Regions from separate parts of the Homo sapiens genome. Here region 1 is linked to region 2. The links are contacts of gene promoters, found by promoter capture Hi-C in human tissues and cell types (Jung and others, 2019). All regions are on one chromosome and are shown on one strand. The core of a region is centred on a gene start or on the middle of the fragment in contact, and the rest is flanking DNA. Distances in the headings are between cores, read along the strand shown. Region 1 overlaps KIF20B (kinesin family member 20B). Region 2 holds the start of HECTD2 (HECT domain E3 ubiquitin protein ligase 2).

Region 1 (2,700 bases), core at 117-2,616, 1.7 Mb after region 2:
TGGAATATGGAGATCTCGAATCCTATTGTTATAGAATGCTTTATTATGATTACCTTAAGAATTAAAATCATGTATTTATACCTGACTATTCATTAGTTTGCTTCATTTAAAAGCAAACATGAAAATAATATAACAAATGTATTTTTTTTATTGTTGCCTCATCCATTTGGTTGATATCAAGCAAAAAATAACCATATACAATAAAGGGATTTTGCCTTTTAAATATCATTTTTAAAAGGAATTTGCTGTAAGACCTCAACTCTTTTTGTTTTTTTGCATTTTATTTCAAAATAATTTTAGCTTTGCAAGAGTTCCAAAGAATTTAGCTTCCCTTAATGTTATCATATTACACTACCATGGTACATTTATCAAAAATCAAGAAATTAACATTGGTATACTACTATTAATTACACTCCAGACTTCACCATCATTCACCAGTCTTTACTTGTCTTTAATGACCCTGACACTTTATACTTCATACTGGTGAAGCAGTAAGTATAACATCCTCCATTTGGGTTTGTCTAATGTTTTTTCGTGAAGAGTCTGAGGTTATAAATTTAGGGAAAGAATACCAAAGAGGGTATGTGCCTTTCTGGTCACATCAAACCAGGAAGCACACAGCATCAATATGACTAATGGTAATGTTATTCTTAAACACTTGGTTAAAGTGGTATCTGCTAGGTTTCTTCACTATGAAGTTATTATTTTTTCTTTTCCATAGTCTATTCATTAGAAGAGAGTCACTACTGGCCTACTTAATTTTATCTTTTTTTTTTCTTTTTTGCCTATTTAATTTTAAATAATTTATTTCTAGATTCTAGAAAAAGTCAAAACAGGATGTTATTAAAAACAAATTTGTACCTTTTTGTACACTAAAATATACCAAGAGAATGCATTTAAATCATCTTTAAAAACAAAACTGTTTACCTTGAGTTGCTGAATGGTTCGCTGTTTCATATCTAATTCCTGAGAACACTGGTTTTTCTTTTTCTCCAGTTCATTAATTTTAATCCTCAGTAATTTATCCTCATCACGCATTACAGATACCTACAAAATAATGTTTATAAAACAAATGGAATATTTTAAAAATACTAACTGCTTTTTGTTATTTAAGATTCATGGCAACTATGTTCAAAGATTCACATCCTTTACAGCCTAAAAGAAAAATGACAGATTTTAATATACTACAAATCAAACACACTATAGCTTCAAATTATTAGAAAATGTTTTAATACTCTAATGAAGAATGCATATGAAAAACTCAATTTCTTGTTCCATTATTTAAGAATCTCAAACTTTTTAAGTTCTCTCAAAAAAGAATTATCATAACATCTATACATAATAGGGAAATAATTACCAAGGAAAAATCAATAAAGATATTCTGAGAGAAAAATACTGATTCAAATTTCCAAAGTTTATTGAGTAATATAATCCAGGAATACAAGAAAAACTTTAAAAGCTAATAATGACATGCAGGGAAGAAAATGGAACAATCACAAAATCAAAAGGTACCCACGCAAGTGAAGGTCAATTGATTTCTGCTGTTGCCGGTAATCTAATGCCATAAACGTAGGGAAATCGAGGTACTATGGACTAATATATATATTAATTTCTCACCCAAAAAAGCTAATATAGGTACATCCTTATACTAGTTTCCATCATACCAACCCCCTCTGAAACCTTTCAGTACATCTTGCCAGGATTTCCAGAGGGAAGTTATCTAACTGGCAGCAGAGCCTTCTCTTCTATTCCCTTGTGGAGCTTTACTGCCAAAACTCCATTTTCACACTCGCTAGAGAGCTCAAAAACGGAAGGAAATTAAATGAAAAGATGCCCCATAAAAAGCATAGAGAAGGCCGGGCATGGTGGCTCATGCCTGTAATACCAGCACTCTGGGAGGCGGAGGCAAGTGGATCACGAGGTCAGGAGATCGAGACCATCCTGGCTAACACAGTGAAACCCCATCTCTACTAAAAATACAAAAAACATTAGCCGGGCATGGTGGCACGTGCCTGTAGTCCCAGCTACTCGGGAGACTGAGGCAGAAGAATTGCTTGAACCCGGGAGGTGGAGGTTGCAGTGAGCCGAGATCACGCCACTGCACTCCAGCCTGGGCAACAGAGTGAGACTCCGCCCAAAAAAAAAAAAAAAAAAAGGCTTGAAGATGCCCTTATTATAGTAGCTCAGAGTGGTATGGTTTCAGAGGATTCTTACATTGTTTTAAGCTTTATGTTCCAATAATACATACATGATAATCACATATTCATAATATTTGCTAATTTTGTTTAAAAAAATGAGGCTTCAAGTAATAAACACCATCTTCATCAACTATATAACTAACAATAATAGAGGCTATGTGCTGCACAAAGATGCATGTAAGGACTGCCTCGGTTTCCATTCTGGCTCTAGCACTTACTACTGAGTGAACTTAGACAAGTCTTATTAAGACTAAGACAAGTGAACTTAGACAAGGACAAGTTCCCCCTTATCCACAGGGGATATGTTTCAAGATCGCCAGTGGATACCTGAAACATTGGATAGTATTTCAAGATCCCCAGTGGACAGTATTGAACCCAGACACCATCAATCGAAACACACTTCTGTTTGCATCCTCCACCCACAAATTTAATGCTTTTTCCATCTTAGCTAAGCAATTATCATGAATTGTGGCCATAACTTTTGCAGTGAGGTGCACCAGCA
Region 2 (2,700 bases), core at 26-2,525:
CCGAAAATTATTCCTAACACCAATACAGTACTTAACGAAGAGTGAGCTATTTTAGTAAGTTCTTAGTCATTTAAGAGGGAGGTTTTAAGAAATGAACCGCAAGTAGGAATAAAGAAAATGTATAATGTTCACTAAACTTTTACTATTTTGTCACACACAGCTGCATGACAAGTCATGATCTTTAAATATATCAAAGCAAACTTTCAAAAAGTACTTAAATATTATGTCAAAATAAAAAATTGCAAAATCCGAGGTTTTTTTTTAAATTGTGCTTCAAATTAACCAGTCACAACCACCAGTAAAAATAGGGAAAGAGGGGGAGGGGGCTGTCCCATGACATCATCTGGCAATATGTAGTTTGAAGCCTGACAGCGCTCTCCAAATAACCCTTACGAAGATACAGCTGGGAAATCATCCCTGTCAAGCTTAGATAACTTGGGTTTAAATAAAAGGTTCAAAAAGCCTCCCCCCACCTGAGTCACATGTCTGTACCATATGAAAAATAAAACCATCACTGATGCATCTACCTCCCACTACACTGACAGCAACGGAAAGGTCACAATTAAGTGGAAACTCGCCGCAGAGCCTGTTTAATCTGAAGGGGGAAGGGAAAGAAAAGCGAAGAAAAGGACAAAAATCTGCGCGCCTCCAAGGCAGGCAGGCAGGCAGGCACCTCCGTGGAAAACCCACTCCCGCCTGCTGACACCTATGCTCATCCAACAGATCATGCCGACTCAAGATGCAGGTCATTCTCTTAGAGAAAGTGGGGGCCCAAGCCCCAGAAAATAACCCAAACATCCAGCGGAACCGACCACCCCCAACATTTCCCGAGGGTGGTAGGTGTACCTCGCGAAGTGTTCGGGGCTGTCCACGAGGCACAACTCTTTTATTTCTGCCCAAGGAAGGGCGGCCTGAGTGCGTCTCCCTGGAGTGCCAGGGCGTGCCCAGGGTAAACGCAGGCCTCCTGACGGCCCTCGCCCGGCCGCCGTCCCTCCCAACTCCCGCCGTCCGGGGCGCCAGACGGCCCCGGCCCACCACCTACCGCGGTCGCGCCGGCGCCCGCCGATACGATGGGCGGCAGCTTCTCGCGCTCTGACTCCTTCCCTTTCCTCTCCTCAGGCGCGGGCGCCGCCACCACCAGCGGAGTGGCGGGCGAGGGTACCCGAACCGCCTCACTCATGTCGGGCCGGGCGGCGGGAGCGCCAGGCGGCGGCGGCGGCCTCAGTGTTGCTGGGGCTGGCGCTGCTGCTGCCGCCGCGGCCGCGAGAGGGCTCTGGGCTGCCGCTTCTAGCCGCCGCTGCCGCCGCCACTCCGCCCCCGCCCGCGCCCGCGCCTTTGCGCGCGAGCCCGAGGCCGCCCCCGCGCGCGCCAGCCCCGCGGACGCGGCTCCCCACAGGTCCCACAGGTTTCTTGCTCTCGCCTCCCCCGCCCGCCCGGGGCTCGCGCGTCGCGGGTCGGGAGCGCCGGCGGTAGTCCCCCTCGTCAACCCCGAGGGCCCGGAGAGAAGGCGCCACGGTCGACGCCCGACCGCCATATTGTTTGCAGAGTGTCGCCCGAGATGACGAGGAGACCCCGCACCCGGGCCGCGCAGGAGAACCTGGACTAAGGACGGGCAGTCGGGGAGACAAGTCGAGCCCTGCAAAGGGTCGGACGGGGATAGAGTGTCCGAGTGGTACCAGTAGGGCAGGACGTAGGCACAGACTACCCTTCACGGACGGCCCTGGCCTGCGGCGCCGAGTCCCGCGGGCAAGCGCCCTCGGGGTCTGGGCTGGTGGCCTTTCGCCTTCTTCCAGGCGCCCACAAAGCTGTCCGCCTTGGGGCTTCTGCCTTCTTATCCTTGCCCGCCCTCCTGAGCCCAGGAGAGGCGGCCCGGAGCTTGCGCAGCCCGGGGAGACAGCCTTCCTGGCTCAGCAACCGACTCTTTTGTACACGCCTGGATGGCTTCAGCCTACACAGGAAAAGCCTGGAGGTGGGGAGGAGTGCGACGTGGTGGGCCCCCCCTTTCCCCTTCCCCCATAGGATTGGACGGCCAGTCCACACTTTCCATTCCTGTTCCTCTCGTCCCTCTTTGACTGCCAAATCCGCCTCTCCCTTCCCGTCCCCACGCGCCTACGTTTTGCTCTCTCCCCGCAACCCTTTGCTGTCTCCTATCCGTCCCTTCCTTGTTCCTTTCCGTTTATGTTAGAGATGTACATACCCAAACTCTGCTGCACAGTCCTCAATCAAATCATTACAAATAGGAGTAAAAACTTGAAAGCCGAAGAAGAGAGCTTTTAATTATGAAATTAAAATACCCCCCACCTCCACCACCAGGACACCTAGACAATTTCCTTTCCTTTCTTGTCGCCCCCTCCTTTTCCTTTTTCTCAGTCTACTGGAGCGGCGGGGACACCTGCTGATCTAGGAGAAAAGAGAGTAAGAATGCGCTGTATCGCCTGTTAAAAGCAAGGAATTTCGATATTCAGCTCTATCAGATTTTTTATCTGTGCCTTCATTATTTTATTGGAGGTTGAGTGAATTTTTAGATCAAGAGTACCTAAGTCCAAATATAAGAACCAAAAATATCTCTGAAACAAACCCAAATATGATTTCGGGGTATCTATTGTTTACATAATTTGGAGTTATTAGTATAACTAAATACTAGTTATGGTGCATCATGAGATAAGGTTGCATGTTTTCAAACCCACAATTTGTAACAAG

The links. Contacts are between HindIII fragments. The study calls those that stand out against the background at their distance.
Region 1: a contact is called between a fragment that was not itself captured here and the fragment with the promoter of HECTD2 in region 2, in 1 of the 25 tissues and cell types used here (bladder).

The regions. Positions count from the first base shown.
Region 1 is chr10:89,742,155-89,744,854 of GRCh38, reverse strand. KIF20B (kinesin family member 20B) reads right to left here. Exons shown (of 33, transcript NM_001284259.2): 22 at 928-1,047. Among named protein-coding and RNA genes, the nearest start is that of KIF20B, 42 kb to the right of the region's middle. The HindIII fragment of the contact is 3,872 bases long and covers 1-2,700 here.
Region 2 is chr10:91,408,919-91,411,618 of GRCh38, reverse strand. HECTD2 (HECT domain E3 ubiquitin protein ligase 2) reads right to left here and starts at 1,275. Exons shown (of 21, transcript NM_182765.6): 1 at 1,043-1,275. The coding sequence starts at 1,180. The region is part of intron 3 of HECTD2-AS1 (HECTD2 antisense RNA 1); the gene reads left to right. RefSeq lists a silencer at 919-1,508 and an enhancer at 1,659-1,868. The HindIII fragment of the contact is 7,826 bases long and covers 1-2,700 here.